Regions from separate parts of the Homo sapiens genome. Here all the other regions are linked to region 1. Evidence: promoter capture Hi-C in 16 types of primary human blood cells and fetal thymus (Javierre and others, 2016). All regions are on one chromosome and are shown on one strand. Each heading gives the region's core, a stretch centred on a gene start or on the middle of the fragment in contact. The rest is flanking DNA. Distances are from core to core; before and after follow the strand shown.

Evidence for each region. The method cuts DNA at HindIII sites, captures the fragments that hold promoters and counts their contacts. A CHiCAGO score of 5 or more calls a contact.
Region 2: the fragment with the promoter of SYCE2 here is called in contact with a fragment that was not itself captured in region 1 in 3 of 17 cell types (neutrophils, M1 macrophages and naive CD8 T cells); the score reaches 5.6 in neutrophils.
Region 3: a contact is called between the fragment with the promoter of DNASE2 here and a fragment that was not itself captured in region 1, in 4 of 17 cell types (erythroblasts, activated CD4 T cells, M1 macrophages and 1 more). The highest score is 6.3, in erythroblasts.

Annotation. Positions count from the first base shown.
Region 1 is chr19:12,691,620-12,696,744 of GRCh38, reverse strand. It overlaps FBXW9 (F-box and WD repeat domain containing 9), which reads left to right and starts at 114. Exons shown (of 10, transcript NM_032301.3): 1 at 114-572; 2 at 1,807-1,946; 3 at 2,023-2,151. The coding sequence starts at 164. RefSeq lists an enhancer at 155-204. The HindIII fragment of the contact is 4,543 bases long and covers 1,210-5,125 here.
Region 2 is chr19:12,916,555-12,921,679 of GRCh38, reverse strand. SYCE2 (synaptonemal complex central element protein 2) reads left to right here and starts at 2,387. Exons shown (of 6, transcript NM_001105578.2): 1 at 2,387-2,437; 2 at 3,343-3,458. The coding sequence starts at 2,423. MIR5695 (microRNA 5695) reads right to left here and starts at 1,360; the gene lies at 1,276-1,360. RefSeq lists an enhancer at 2,568-2,707. The HindIII fragment of the contact is 4,677 bases long and covers 598-5,125 here.
Region 3 is chr19:12,879,507-12,884,631 of GRCh38, reverse strand. It overlaps DNASE2 (deoxyribonuclease 2, lysosomal), which reads left to right and starts at 3,183. Exons shown (of 6, transcript NM_001375.3): 1 at 3,183-3,342; 2 at 3,480-3,660; 3 at 3,752-3,830. The coding sequence starts at 3,257. It overlaps KLF1 (KLF transcription factor 1), which reads left to right. Exons shown (of 3, transcript NM_006563.5): 3 at 1-210. RefSeq lists enhancers at 570-831, 3,256-3,365, 3,025-3,652 and cis regulatory regions at 501-1,021, 1,561-2,061, 2,801-3,361. The HindIII fragment of the contact is 8,211 bases long and covers 214-5,125 here.

The sequences.
Region 1 (5,125 bases), core at 2,232-4,731:
CGCAGTTGCAAGAGACCCTGTAAGCGGGGCGATGTTCTGTATTAAGCCAGTGTCTGACTTCGTCGCTTCCGGTGGGCGCATAAACGTCATCAGACAGCGCCGGAAGTGCCCTCGTGCTGCCTAGGAGACAAGACGCGAGGCCGGCAGCGCCCACCCGGTCGCAATGGAGCTTCCCCTAGGGCGGTGCGATGATTCCCGCACCTGGGACGATGACTCGGACCCAGAGTCAGAGACAGACCCAGACGCGCAGGCCAAGGCCTACGTGGCCCGCGTTCTCAGTCCGCCAAAATCCGGGCTGGCGTTCTCGCGCCCCTCGCAGCTATCCACACCCGCCGCGTCCCCGAGCGCTTCGGAGCCTCGGGCCGCGTCCAGGGTTTCGGCCGTAAGTGAGCCGGGCCTTCTGAGCCTTCCCCCGGAGCTGCTGCTCGAGATCTGCTCCTACCTGGACGCCCGCCTCGTGCTCCACGTCCTGTCGCGGGTGTGCCACGCGCTCCGCGACCTCGTGTCTGACCATGTCACCTGGAGGCTACGCGCGCTACGCCGCGTACGCGCGCCCTACCCAGTGGTGGAAGGTGCGCGGGGCCGGGGGCCGGGGACCGGGGGCCGGGGGCGCCCGCCCAGGTCAGGCTTGGGGCGGGGAAGAGGTACATGGGGTGTTCCGGATGCAGCCTCTGGTGCAGGCTTCGTGGCTGTCCTGGCTCAGGCTGGAGGCTAAGGTAGTTACTGGTGGTGCCGAAGCCCCTGAGGACCTCTGGGTGGACCACGAGGCAGTCAGGCACTTGGGGTCCTGAGGCTGTGAAACCCTAACATGGGGCTGTGGTTCCTGGACGACTCAGGATCCAAATATCCTCAGTCTTGGGGTCTTGTGGTACTAAGCCACTGACCCCTGATTGGGGATTGACACAGGGACTTGAAGTCTTAGGCTCTGGAGTTTATGCTGGGGCTCAAAGTGAGCCCAAGGATCCTCAGGTTCTGAGTCCAGCTTAGAAGCTGAGACAGCACCTGTTGATGTCAAAACTCCTGAGCCCTAGAGCCTTGACCCAGTTAGGGGTGAGACAGTGGCTCTTGGCCCTGAGTTGATTGGTTCCTGAGGGAAGACAGCTTGGGACCTTTGAATCGATATTGTTGATCCTGATACAGCTGGATCCTCAGGCCCTTAAGCCAAGATGTATTACAGCTTGGGTGTTTGATACCCTTAACCTGGAAGCTTTGATTCTGCTTAGAGAGGAATCAGGATCACTCCGGGATCAGTGATTCTCAAGGTGTTGCCATCCAACCCCCAGGTCAGACTCTCCCAAACAGCTTAATAAACATAGATGCTTGGACCCCGTCCATATCACAGAATCTGCATCTGGGGCTTGCATTCTGCATCTTGACAAGGCTCCCTGGTTTCCAGATACTGTTTGAGAAACAGCCCCCTTGGTCTGGTTCAGATGGCTGAGGCAGGAAGGGTTAGTCATGAGGTCCCAGCTTCTATGCTGAGCCTGAGGTCAGACCTCAACATCCTGAGACTGCTCTGCCCTGAGTTTGGGTTGGGGGATGGCGCCTGGAGAGGTAGTTCTGAGACCCCAGTTCCCAATTTCTGGAAATTGGAGTGAGTAGTCCTAGACCTGCCTGGGAAATGGGCAGGCAGGTGGTCCCAAGACCACAGCCTGGGTCGGCTTGGGGTGGGAGTAGGGATCTCCATGGGGTTCTGTCCAAGTCTGGTGTAGTGTGGGCTCCCTGGAAGCCAGGGTTGGGCTTGGCCAGCTGGCATGGGTGCTAGGGTCCCTGCCCACTGGGCACCCTACTCGTGGTAACCCACAGAGAAGAACTTTGACTGGCCGGCAGCCTGCATTGCGCTGGAGCAGCACCTGTCCCGCTGGGCAGAGGATGGGCGCTGGGTCGAATACTTCTGCCTGGCCGAAGGCCACGTGGCTTCCGTTGACTCAGTGCTGCTGCTCCAGGTGAGACGGGGTCTGTGGGGGGCCAGGCAGGGTGGGCCAGGGTGGCCCTGACAACATCACCTTGCTCCCTTTCCAGGGTGGGTCACTCTGTCTGTCGGGCTCCCGAGATCGCAACGTCAACTTGTGGGACCTGCGGCAGCTGGGGACGGAGTCCAACCAGGTTCTGATCAAGACCTTAGGCACTAAGCGAAATAGTACCCATGAGGTGAGGAGTCAGGTGGGGATAGGAGGTATGAGGCCTGAGTAGGGCATCTTGGTTAAGGCCCCAGGTTTTGGTACAGGACCGCATAGATTTGAATCTGACTTTTCTAACCTTGGTGTGACTTTGAGTGAGATGTGTGACTTCTCTGTGCCTCAGTTTCTACTTCTGTCCAGTGGGTGATTAGGATGAGGATGAAGGAGATGCATTATGCATTAATGTGGACATGCATTAAGCTCAGGCTTTTTTTTTTTTTTTTTTTGAGACGGAGTCTCGTTCTGTCACCCAGGCTGGAGTGTGGCATGATCTCAGCTCACTGCAACCTCTGCTTCCCGGGTTCAAGCGGTTCTCCTGCCTCAGCCTCCTGAGTAGCTGGGACTACAGGTGCATGCCACCACACCTGTCTAATTTTTTTTTTTTTTTTTTGAGATGGAGTCTCACTCTGTTGCTAGGCTGGAGTGTAGTGATGCAATCTCGGCTCACTGCAACCTCTGCCTCCCAGGTTTAAGCAATTCTCCTGCCTCAGCCTCCTGAGTAGCTAGGACCACCATGCCCAGCTAATTTTTTTATTTTTGGTAGAGACAGGGTTTCACCATGTTGGTCAGGATGGTCTCGATCTCCAGACCTCGTGGTCTGCCCGCCTCAGCCTCCCAAAGTGCTGGGATTACAGGCATGAGTCACCTGGCCTTTATTTATTTATATTTTTATTGAGACAGAGTCTCCCTCTGTCACCCAGGCTGGAATGCAATGGCATGATCTCGGCCCACTGCAACCTCTGCCTCCGGGATTCAAGTGATTCTCCTGTCTCAGCCTCCCAAGTAACTGGGATTACAGGTGCCTGCCACCATGCCCAGCTAATTTTTTTTTTTTAATGGAATCTCACTCTGTTGCTCAGGCTATAGTGCAGTGGCACAATCTCAGCTCACTGCAACCTTGCCTCCTGAGTAGCTGGAATTATAGGCATGTGCCACCATGCCCAGCTAATTTCTTTTGTGTGTGTGTGTGTGTGTGTGTGTGTGTGTGTGTGTGTGTGTGTGTATATATATATATATATATATATATATATATATTTTTTTTTTTTTTTTTTTTTTTTTTTTTCCTTTAGTAGAGACGAGGTTTCGCCATGTTGGCCAGGCTGGTCTCAAACTCCTGGCCTCAAGTGATCTGCCTGACTCAGCCTTCCAAAATGCTAGGATTACAGGCATGAGCCACGGTGCCCAGCCAAGCTCAGGCTTTGACACACAGTAGGTGCTCAATAGACGTCAGGTACACCTTGAGAGGCCCAGTGTAAAGCAGTTATGAGACTACCCTTGGAGATCAGCCAACTCTGAGCATGACTGTCATCTCGTGAGAGGTGGCTGTGGAGGAGCATCTCCACCAGTCGCTAAGGTGGTCAGGCCGGTAGCTGAGAGCTTGGGCTTGGGGCCAGGATGCTGGGTTCAAATTCTCACTGTGCTGCTTCCTGGCTGTGTGACCTTGAGTGAGAAACTCAACCTCTCTGGGGCCCAGTTTCCCCATTTGTAAAATGAGATACACAATATTGCCCTCCTCAGCGGGATTGGTGGGCAAAAAGTCAGCATTCAGCACCCTGTGCATATTAGCTCCTGAGGCAAGGGATGTTTTCTGCCCAATTTGCTGATGAATGAACTGAGGGAGGTGATATGGTTTGCCAGGTCACAAAGTAGAGGCCACACTCTTAATCACTTGTCATGTGGCTTCAAACCACCACTGGTGCTGAGTTCTTGCAGAACTTGACTTAGAAATGTTATTGGGCCAGGGTGCAGTTAGTTGCTCAGGCCTGTAATCCTAACACTTTGGGAGGCCGAGGCAGGAGGATTGCTTGAACCCAGGAGTTCGAGACCAGCCTGGGCAACATGGGAGACCCTGACTCTACAAAAAATACCAAATAATTAGCCAGGCGTGGTGCGTGGGCACCTGTAGTCCCAGCGACTCGGGAGGCCGAGGCAGGAGAATGGCATGAACCCGGGAGGCGGAGCTTGCAGTGAGCCGAGATCATGCCACTGCACTCCAGCCTGGGCGACAGAGCGATACTATGTCTCAAAAAAAAAAAAAAGACCGGATGCAGTGGCTCACGCCTGTAATCCCAGCACTTTGGGAGGCTAAGGCAGGCGGATCATCTGAGGTCAGGAGTTCGAGACCAGCCTGACCAACATGGAGAAACCCCGGCTCTACTAAAAATACAAAATTAGCTGGCGCGGTGGCACATGCCTGTAATCCCAGCTACTAGGGAGGCTGAGGCAGGAGAATTGCTTGAACTCGGGAGGCGGAGGTTGTGGTGAGCCGAGATCGTATCATTGCACTCCAGCCTGGGCAACAGGAGCAAAACTCCATCTCAAAAAAAAAAAAAAAAAATTAGCAGAGTGTAGTGGCATGCACCTGTAGTCCCAGCTCTTTGGGAAGCTGTGGTACAAGGATTGCTTGAGCCTGGGATGTGGAGGCTGCAATAAGCCATGATCGCACCACTGCATTCATGCCTGGATGACACAGCAAGACCTTGTCTCAAAAAAAAAAAAAGAGTTCCTGGGCCAGGCACAGTGGCACATGCCTGTAATCCCAGCACTTTGGGAGGCTGAAGCGGGCGGATCACCTAAGGTCAGGAGTTTGAGACCAGCGTGGCCAACATGGTGAAACCCCGTCTCTACTAATAATACAAAAATTAGCCGGGCGTGGTGGCACAAGCGTGTAATCCCAGCTACTAGAGAGGCTGAGGCAGGAGAATCACTTGAACACGGGAGGCAGAGGTTGCAGTGAGCCAAGATCAAGCCACTGCACTCCAGCCTGGATGACAAAAGTGAAACTCCGTCTCCAAAAAAAAAAAGTTTCTGGGTGGGGTGTGCCTTTCCTGGACTCTGAAGTCAGGCTGACCCATGGACACAAACTTTAATCTGTACTCAACTTGAACTTGCTCTGGTTTCATCTATGCAATGGGGGTGATCACCTGGAGCCAGAGTTGGGTGTT
Region 2 (5,125 bases), core at 1,138-3,637, 230 kb before region 1:
AAAAATACAAAAAAAAAGCTGGGCGTGGTGGTGAGCACCTGTAGTCCCAGCTACCCGGGAGGCTGAGGCACGAGAATCGTTTGAACCAGGAGGTGGAGGTTGCAGTGAGCCAAGATTGTGCCACTGCACTACAGCCTGGGTGACAGAAGAAGACTCTGTTCCAAAAAAAAAAACAAAAAACAAAAATTAGCAGGCATGATGGCAGGCACCTGTAGTCCCAGCTATCTGGGAGGCTGAGGTGGGAGAATCACTTGAACCCAGGAGGTGGAGGTTGTAGGGAGCTGAGATCACACCACTGCACTCCAGTCTGGGCCACAGAGTGAGACCTGTCCCCCAAAAACAGAAAACAAAAATTAGCTCAGCATAGTGGCTCATGCCTGTAATCCCAGGTACTCCAGAGACTGAGGTTGATCACTTGAGCCTGGGAGGTCGAGGCTGCAATGAGCCGTGATTACACCACTGCACTCCAGCCTGGGCAACAGAGTGAGACCCTGTCGTTAAATACATATTTATGTGTCTAAATAAACACAAGTACCCTGGAATCTTGCCATTTCCATCAAATCTGAACTTTGGCTGTGTAGGGGTGAAGAGAAAGCTTCCTTATTGCCCTCTGAAGTTTCACTAAAAATTACTGAGAAAAGGCAGATTAATAAGAGAAAAGGAATACGAATGTATTTGATCATAGTGTTACCTGACAAGCCTTCAGAATGAAGATCCAGAGATACAGGGGAAACTGTGTTTTTGTTTTGTTTTGTTTTGAGACGGAGTCTGGCTCTGTTCCCTGGGCTGGAGTGTAGGGGCGATCTTGGCTCACAGCAGCCTCAGCTTCCCAAGCAGCTGGGATTACAGGTGCCCGCCACCATGCCTGATTAATGAAAAGTGTCTTATGCTTAGGTTCAGCAAAGTTTGAACACCCAGGTAGAAATTTGATTGGACAAAAAGGGTTTGTCGTGGTTCATACTTGTAATCCTGACACTTTGGGAGGCTGAGGCGGGTGGATCACTTGAGGCCAGGAGTTTGAGACCAGCCTGAGCAACATGGAAAAACCCCATCTCTACTAAAAATACAAAAATTAGCTGGGCATGGTGCATCTGTAATCCCAGCTACTTGGTTGGCTGAGAATCGCTTGAACCTGGGAGGCCAAGGTTGCAGCGAGTTGAGATCTTGCCACTGCACTCCAGTGTTGCCTGGACAACAGAGCAAGACAAAAAAAAAAAAAAAAAAAAAAAGCCGGGGGGGTCGTCTAATACTAATAGGCTGAGTGGGGAAACCCAGCAAGGCCTATCTGTCTAGATTCTTCTTGGAGTCTCAGGAATGCATGCTCAGAGAGGCCAAGAAGAATCTAGATAGATAGGCCTTGTGTGGGGCAGAAACTTCTTTGAAACGGGGGTCTTATGACCTACAGTCAATAGGGTAGATCAGATAATTTCTTCTTTTTTTGAGACAGCACTTTGGGAGACCAAGACGGGAGGACGGCTTGAGCCCAGGAGTTGGGGATCAGCCTGGGCTCAGCACAGTGAGATCTCATTTCTACAGGAAAAAAAAATATAATTATGTGTGTGTGTGTGTGTGTGTGTGTGTGTATATATACATACAATCTTTTTTTTTTTTTTGAGACGGAGCTTTACTCTGTCACCCCGGCTGGAGTGCAGTGGCATGATCTCAGCTCACTGCAACCTCTGCGTCCTGGGTTTAAGCAATTCTCCTGCCCCAGCCTCCCGAGTAGCTGGGACTATAGGCGCCCGCCACCACGCCCGGCTATTTTTTGTATTTTTAGTAGAGACAGTTTCACCATGTTGGCTAGGCTGGTCTCGAACTCATGACCTCAGGTGATCCACCCGCCTCGGCCTCCCAAAGTGCTGGGATTACAGGCGTGAGCCACCGCGCCCGGCCAGAAAAATATTTTTAAATTAGAAGGGCCTGGTGAATGACACTGCTACTCAGGAGGCCGAGGCAGGAGGATCGCTTGAACCTGGGAGGTCGAGGCTACAGTGAGCTGTGATCGCACCACTGCACTCCAGCCTGGGCGACAGACCAAGATCTTGTCTCAAAAAAAAAAAAAAATTGTTATGGAGTATATTTTCCAAGGCAGAGTGGATGAAGTTAGAAGCACCGAATAAATACAGGACTCTGAGATCCGTATAACCTGGGCGCCCCGTGGAACCCAGGAGCCTCACAGGGGCACACAAGCGCACCCAGAGCGCGCCGTCCTGCTCCCAAGGGGCGCCGACTGCGCGCGCAGCCCGCGGACCGCGAAACTGCTGCTTAACGGTCGGCCCCGCCCAGTTGGCCGCGCAAGTTCTCAAAGAGGGCGGGGCCGGGAGCACGCGTCACAACACACTCGTCCGCGGGAGCGCAGCTGGCCAGGGGCGGGGTCGGCGCATGCGCAGAGGGTGCGAGCTTGAAGGCGGGAAAATACGGAATGGAGCGACAGGGAGTACGCGGCGCTTGTTTCCTTCTCGCGCGTGGGGCGGGCGGACAGATAGGCAGGGAACGGCTGCGATCCCAGCCATCTCCAGCGGACCCGAGCCCGGCCGCTTGTCCTTTGCCATTGGGGCTCCCTCTCATCAGGCCTGGCCTCAAATTTCCTGACTGACTGAACCCGGCCCTGACTGACGCACTGACGGGTCTGATTTCCACACATGGCGCGTGGCCGGAACGGAGTAGAGAAAGGCACAAACACCCACGCACCGCACCCGTTTCTTTCATTTCTTTTTTTTTTTTTTTTTGAGACGAAGTATCACTCTGTCGCCCAGTCTGGAGTGCAGTGGCGTGATCTCGGCTCACTGCAACCTCTGCCTCCCGGGTTCAAGTGATTCTCCTTCCTCAGCCTCCCGAGTAGCTGGGATTACAGGCACGCACCACCACGTCAGCTAATTTTTGTATTTTTAGTAGAGACGGGGTTTCACCATATTGCTCAGGCTGTTCTCGCACTCCTGACCTCGTGATCCGCCCGCCTCCGCCTCCCAAAGTGCTGGGATTACAGGCGTGAGCCACCGCGCCCGGCCTCATCTCTTTTCTCCTACCTCTTCTCCTTTCTCGAAGGACTCCAGCCAACACACATACCAGTTAGGAGCCCAGGTCCTCCAGTTACATTCCCACAGCCCTGCCCTCACCCGGCCCCTCTAGGTCTGGTGTCCTGGTGTCCCCTAGGGACAGAGTGTCCTTTCACCCCATGCCCCTGCCCTCATGGCACCTGCCCCAGCCCTGCCCGTCTTTCCTGCGGGTCCCCACCGTCCCGCAGCAGCACATCGAGGTGACCAGGGTTGAAGGGTCGGCAGGAGGGCGATCTGTTCACTCCTCATCCTCCCTCCTTGGCCTCCGTCCTGACTGTGCTTGCAGGTGGACGTGCCCCATGTGAAATGCAAAGACCAGGAACCGCAGCCCTTGGGGGAGAGCAAGGAGCATCCGCGGTGGGAAGAGAACTGCGAGGAGGAAGCTGGTGGAGGGCCAGCTAGGTGAGGAAGATCCCAGCCCTATGGGTCTACACAGGCCCCTGGGTCCCTCTCATTCACCCTTTTCTTCCACAAGGCTATGCCAGTGTCTGCTGCTTTTTTTTTCCCTCCTAACACAGCGTCTTGCTTTGTCACCACGCAGTGGCATGATCACGGCTCACTGCAACCTCCACCTCCCAGACTCAAGTGATCCTCCCACCTCAGCCTCCGAAATGGCTGGGACTAGAGGCGGGCCAGAATGTCGGGCCAATTTATTAAAAAATATTGGCCAGGTGCAGTGGTTCACACCTGTAATCCCAACACTTTGGGAGGCCAAGGCGGGTGGATCACCTAAGGTCGGGAGTTTGAGACCAGCCTGACAAACATGGAGAAACCCCGTCTCTACTAAAAATACAAAATTAGCTGGGCATAGTGGCACATGCCTGTAATCCCAGCTACTCAGGAGGCTGAGGCAGGAGAATCGCTTGAACCCAGGAGGTGGAGGTTGCAGTGAGCTGAGATGGCGCCATTGCACTCCAGCCTGGGCAAAAAGACCGAAACGCTGTCTCAAAAAAAAAAAAAAAAAGCCAGGAATGGTGGCTTATGCCTGTAATCCTAGCACTTTGGGAGGCCGAGGGGGGTGGATCAAAAGGTCAAGAGATGGAGACCATCCTGGCTAACATGATGAAACCCCGTCTCTACTAAAAATACAGAAGTTAGCTGGGTGTTGTGGTGCACGCCTGTAGTCCCAGCTACTCGGGAGGCTAAGGCAGGAGAATCGCTTGAACCCCAGAGGCAGAGGTTGTAGTGAGCCGAGATCATGCCACTGCATGCCAGCCTGGTGACAGAGTGAGACTCCGTCTCAAAAAAAAGAAAAAAGAAAAATTTAGTAGGCCGGGCACGGTGGCTTACGCCTGTAATCCCAGCACTTTGGGAGGCCAAGGCAGGCAGATCATGAGGTCAGGAGTTTGAGACTAGCCTGGCCAATATGGTGAAACCCTGTGTCTACAAAAATTAGCCAGGCATGGTGACAGACACTTGTAATCCCAGCTACTCAGAAGGCTGAGGCAGGAGAATTGCTTTAACCTGGGAGGCAGAGATTGCAGTAAGCCAAGATTGTGCCATTGCATTCCAGCCTTGGTGACAGAGCAAGACTCTGTCTCAAAAAAAAAAAAAAAAAGTATATATATAGTAGAGGCTGGGCGCAGTGGCTCACGCCTGTAATCCCAGCACTTTGGGAGGCTGGCGCTGGCAGATAACTTGAGGTCAGGATTTCGAGACCAGCCTGGCCCACATGGTGAAACTCCGTCTCTACTAAAAACACAAAAATCAGCCAGGCGTGGTGGTGCATGCATGTAGTCCTGGCTATTCAGGAGGCCAAGGCAGGAGGATCCCTTGAGCCCAGGAGTTTGAGACCAGCCTGGGCAACAGAGGGAGACATATCTCTCTGAAAAAAAAGAAAGAAAGAAAGAAAGAAATGAGCGTGGTGTGGTGCGGTTGCACACACCTGTGGCCCTAGCTACTTGGAAGGCTGAGGTGGGAGGACCACTTGAGCCTGGGAGGTCGAGGCTGCAGTGAGACGTGATTGCTTCACTGCACTGGAAGAGCAAGACCCTGTCTCAAAAATAAATAAGTGAATAATGTGATTTCAACTGGTGGCAAGTAAGTGGAATGAAGAAACAAAATATAGT
Region 3 (5,125 bases), core at 1,934-4,433, 190 kb before region 1:
CGTGCAAACCCAGTGAGACAGACCGCCAAATAAACGGACTCAGTGGACACTCAGACCAGCTCCCAGATGGCCCTGGACAGCAGGAGAGGGTGTGGGATGAGGCTTCCCAGAGACCCTGGGTCTAGAAAGCGGCTCCTGAAGGTCCCTTATTGTGGCTGATATTAACTGTCAATGGTTATGGGTCCTATAAAAATGCCCCTCCCAGATAAAGCTTCAGCGTTGGCCTGAATTTTTGGGTTTTGGAGGCTGGAAGATGGCAGGAGGCTGTAAACCTAGAGGTCATATTAGAGGGCCTTACACACCCTCATCTCCTAAACTACAGTGACACCCCTCAACTCCAACAAGCCCCCTTGGGCACTGGAGGCCTTGCTGTCCTCTCTTTTCCCACCCAGTTCAGGCTACACTGTCCTTGTCTTCTGCCTTGAACCCTGCGGACATTGACAGCAAACATCTCCCTGGATTTAAGAGTTCACAGCCTATGACTGCCCAGGGGGTTCATCTTGCCCACTGTCCAGATAGAGCCAATTTATCGAGACAGAGGGATTGCAATAGAGAGAGTTTAATCCACATACATCCAGCTAAATGGGAGATGGGAGTTTTATTACTTGAATCAGCCTCCCTGAAAATTCAGAGGCTAGGGTTATTCAAGAACAGTTTGGTGGGCAGGAGGGCTAGGGAATGGGTGCCTTGCTGCAATCCTGGAGCTGTGGAAAACAGTTGCTGAGTCAGCTTCTGGGTGGGGACCATAGAGTCGCTAGTCTGGGTGGAGTCATCCAGTTGTCAGATATGCAAAAAGCCTAAAAAGACATCTAAAAAGGCCAGCGTTAGGTTTTGCAATAGTCATGTTATTTGCAGAAATAACTGGGGAAGTTGCAAACCTTGTGACCTCCAGAATAATGGCTGGCCATCTTTGTTTTTGTTTTTGAGATGGAGTCTTGCTCTTGCCCAGGCTGGAGTGCAGTTGTTCCATCTTGGCTCACTGCAACCTCTGCCTCCTGGGTTCAAGTGATTCTCCTGTGTCAGCCTACCAGGTAGCTAGGATTACAGGCACATGCCACCATGCCGGGCTAATTTTTGTATTTTTAGAAGAGATGGGGTTTCGAAATGCTGGCCAGGCTGGTTTCGAAATCCTGACCTCAGGTAATCTGCCAGCCTCGGCCTCTCAAAGTGCTGGGATTACAGGCGTGAGGCACCGCACCCGGCCGGAAAAATGGCTGGTCATAATTTAACTACTACACCTACAGTTTAGCAGAATTCAGGCTCCTCTCATCCTCCTAACCTAGTGCCCTTTCATTATTTCTACAAAGGCAGTTTAGTTTGGGGAAGGGCTATTATCATTTAAGCTATAAACTAAATTCCTCCCAAAATTAGCTTGGGGCCAGGCATGGTGGCTCCCTCTTTAATCCCAGCAATTTGGCAGGCTGAGGCGGGCAGATCACTTGAGCCCAGGAGTTCGACACCAGCCTGAGCCCCAAGGTGAAACCCCATCTCTACCAAAAATGGTGAAACCCAGTCTCTACCAAAAATACAAAAATTAGCTGGGCATGTGGCGCATGCCTGTAATCCCAGCTACTCAGGAAGCTGAGGCAGGAGGATTGCTTGAACCTAGGAGGCGGATGTTGCAGTGAGCTGAGATCACACCACTGGACTCCAGCCTGGGCGACAGAGTGAGACAACGTGTCAAAAAAAAAAAAAAAGTTAGCTTGACCCCACTCCAGGAATGACCAAGCAAGGGCAGTTTGGAGATTAAAGGCAAGATGGAGTTGGTTAGGTCAGAGCTCTTTCACTGACATAATTTTCTGTCATAATTTTTGCAAAGGCAGTTTCAAGCCAGTACTCAGATTCCCATAGCCCTTTGCCCTGCCATGATCCTTTGAGGCTGAGGTGGGAGAATCACTTGAACCCCGGAGTTCCAGAGCAGCCTGGGCAACATAGTGAGACCCTCATCTCTGCAATGAACAATTATCTGGGTGTGGTGGCACAGGCCTGTAGTACCAGCTACCTGGGAAGATCTCTTGAGCCCAGTAGGTTGAGGCTGCAGTGAACTGTGATGGAGTCACTGCATTCTAGCCTGGGTGAGAAACCATTATCCTGTCTCAAAACGACAAAAAACAAACATACAGTCACCTCTTTGCTAGCTCAGGGGATCCTGGAGAAAACGTGCAGAATGAAAAAGGAGAGTCTGGGTGGCGTGGATTACATGCCTGTAATCCCAGCACTTTGGGAGGCAAGACAGGTGGATCCCTTGAGCTCAGGAGTTCAGCCTGAGCCACATGGTGAAACCGTGTTTCAAAAAAAAAACTACAAAAATTAGCTGGGCATAGTGGCATGTGCCCGTGATCCCAGCTACTCGGGAGGCTGAGGTGAGAGGATCACTTGAGCTGGGGAGGCAGAGGTTGCAGTGAGCCAAGATTGCGCCACTGCACTCCGGCCTGGGCAACAGAGCGAGATATTGTCCGGGAAAAAAAAAAAAAAAAAAGGAAGGAAAAAAAAAAAGAAAGAAAAAGGGGAAGATACACTGGAACACAAATGCTTCTTAAGGGGCGCAGTGGCTCACTTCTGCAATCTTGGCACTTTCGGGGGCCGAGGCTGGTGGATCACGAGGTCAGGAGTTCGAGACCAGCCTAGTCAACATGGAAAAACCCCGTCTCTACTAAAACTACAAAAATTAGCCGGGCGTGGTGTCGGGCGCCTGTAATCCCAGCTACTCGGGAGGCTGAGGCAGGATAATCGCTTTAATCAGGAAGGCGGAGGTTGCAGTGAACCGAGATCGTGCCATTGCACTCCAGCCTGGGCGACAAGAGTGAAACTCCGTCTCAAAAAAAAAAAAAAAAAAAAAAAAAAAAAAAGAGGAAGAACAAAGGTCCCAAGAGTTGGACCCAGGTTGTAGGGCTGGAATAAAAAATAAAATACAAACTTGTGCCTGATCCAGAAACCCGGGCGGGAGTTGGGTCAGACAGAAGAGCGTGGGCTGGGATTAGCTACCACGAAAAGGAACGGTGGCCAGGCTCCAGGAGACGCTGGAGCGCCGGGCCCGTCGTGGGCGTGGTCTGGGCAGACTCAGCGTTGCCTTTTGCCTCTCCAAAACGCAGCATCGCGTCTCGGGGGAGGAGTCTGTACCCTCGTGATGTCCCCGCCCCGGTTCCCAGGCAAGTTTAGGGAAGTGAAAGGCGCCAGGTGCCAGTCCTGGCCTCTGATGTAACCCAGCGCCCCGCAGTCCCGACACAGATTCCTGGATCTCAGCCCCATAGCAGCTATGATCCCGCTGCTGCTGGCAGCGCTGCTGTGCGTCCCCGCCGGGGCCCTGACCTGCTACGGGGACTCCGGGCAGCCTGTAGACTGGTGAGTGCGCAGCGGGGGGCCTACCATCGCCCCGGGGTCCGGCTGCGGTCACTCAACCGGGATGGCTACCTCCTCGGGGAACCCTGGGGTGCCTTCTCTTCCCTCTCTCCTATTTCTGTGCATTCTCCGACCTCCAGGTTCGTGGTCTACAAGCTGCCAGCTCTTAGAGGGTCCGGGGAGGCGGCGCAGAGAGGGCTGCAGTACAAGTATCTGGACGAGAGCTCCGGAGGCTGGCGGGACGGCAGGGCACTCATCAACAGCCCGGAGGGGGCCGTGGGCCGAAGCCTGCAGCCGCTGTACCGGAGCAACACCAGCCAGGTGAAGGGGGCCCCGGGCCAACTAGGGGCGAAACTCTAGGGCTGCCCTGCCTGGGAGGAATTTCACGTTGCCTCCGTTTATCCGCCCGCAGCTCGCCTTCCTGCTCTACAATGACCAACCGCCTCAACCCAGCAAGGCTCAGGACTCTTCCATGCGTGGGCACACGAAGGGTGAGGCCTGGATTGGGGGCTGGGGAGAGACTCGGGTCCCATTTTTCCAAGGTAACCCCTGACGTGCATGGGGTGGTCGGGGAGATCTGCACTGTCAGACCCTGGGCATCTATTCCCCCCAACTTTTTTTTTTCTTTGTTTTTGAGACGGTGGGAGTTCGCTCTGTCACCCAAGCTGGAGTGCAGTGGCACAATCTTGGCTCACTGCAATCTCTGCCTCTGGGGTTGAAGCAATTCTCCTGTCTCAGCCTCCCAAGTAGCTGGTATTAAAGGCGCACCATCACACCAGGCTAATTTTCATATTTTTAGTACAGACGAGGTTTCACCATGTTGGCCAGGCTGGTCTCGAACTCCTGGTTTCTACCTCAAGTGATCTACCCGCCTTGGCCTCCCAAAGTGCTGGGATTACAGGAATGAGCCACCCTGCCCAGCCGAGTTCCTATGCATTTTTCCAAGCTAACCCCTGACCTCCATAGTGGGGTGGGAGATCTCCCCTGTCAGACCTTGGGCATCTATTTCCCCTATTTTATTTTCTTTTAGACAAGGTCTCACCCAGTCACCTAGGCTGGAGTGCAGTATCACAGCTCACTGCAGCCTTGACCTCCCAGGGCTCAGGTGATCCTCCTACCTCAGCCTCCCAAGTACTGGGCCTGCCGGTACCCCCCACCACGCCTGGCTTTTTTTTTTTTTTTTTTTTTTTGCGGCACTCTCTCTCCATCACCCAGGCTGGAGTTCGGTGGTGCAATCTCAGCTCACTGCAATCTCCATCTCCCCAGTTCAAGCGATTCTTCTGCCTCAGCCTCTGGAGTAGCTGGGATTACAGGTGTGCGCCACCATGCCCAGCTAAATGTTGTATGTTTTAGTAGAGATGGGGTTTTACCAGGTTGGACAGGCTGATATTGAACTCCTGACCTCAGGTGATCCACCTGCCTTGGCCTCCCAAAGTGCTGGGATTACAGGCGTGAGCCACCACACCTGGCCTACTTTTTGTATTTTTGTAGAGTGGGCTTTTGCCATGTTGCCTAGGCTGGTCTCTAAGTCCTGGTTCAAGCAATCCACCCACCTTGGCCTCTTAATGTGCTGCGATTACCGGCATGAGCCGCCACACCTGGCCTGTTTCCCTACCTTACATTACTCTTGGCGTTATTCTGGACTATAAGAATTTATGCCTGCAAAAACTGAGCTCAGCTGTGGTTCTAACACTGCTGGCACCCTCTCTAAGCCCCGCTGCAAACTGAGGGTGTTCCTGATTGCAGATGAGCTTGCTGGGAGGCCTGGAGCAATACCCTCTAATTG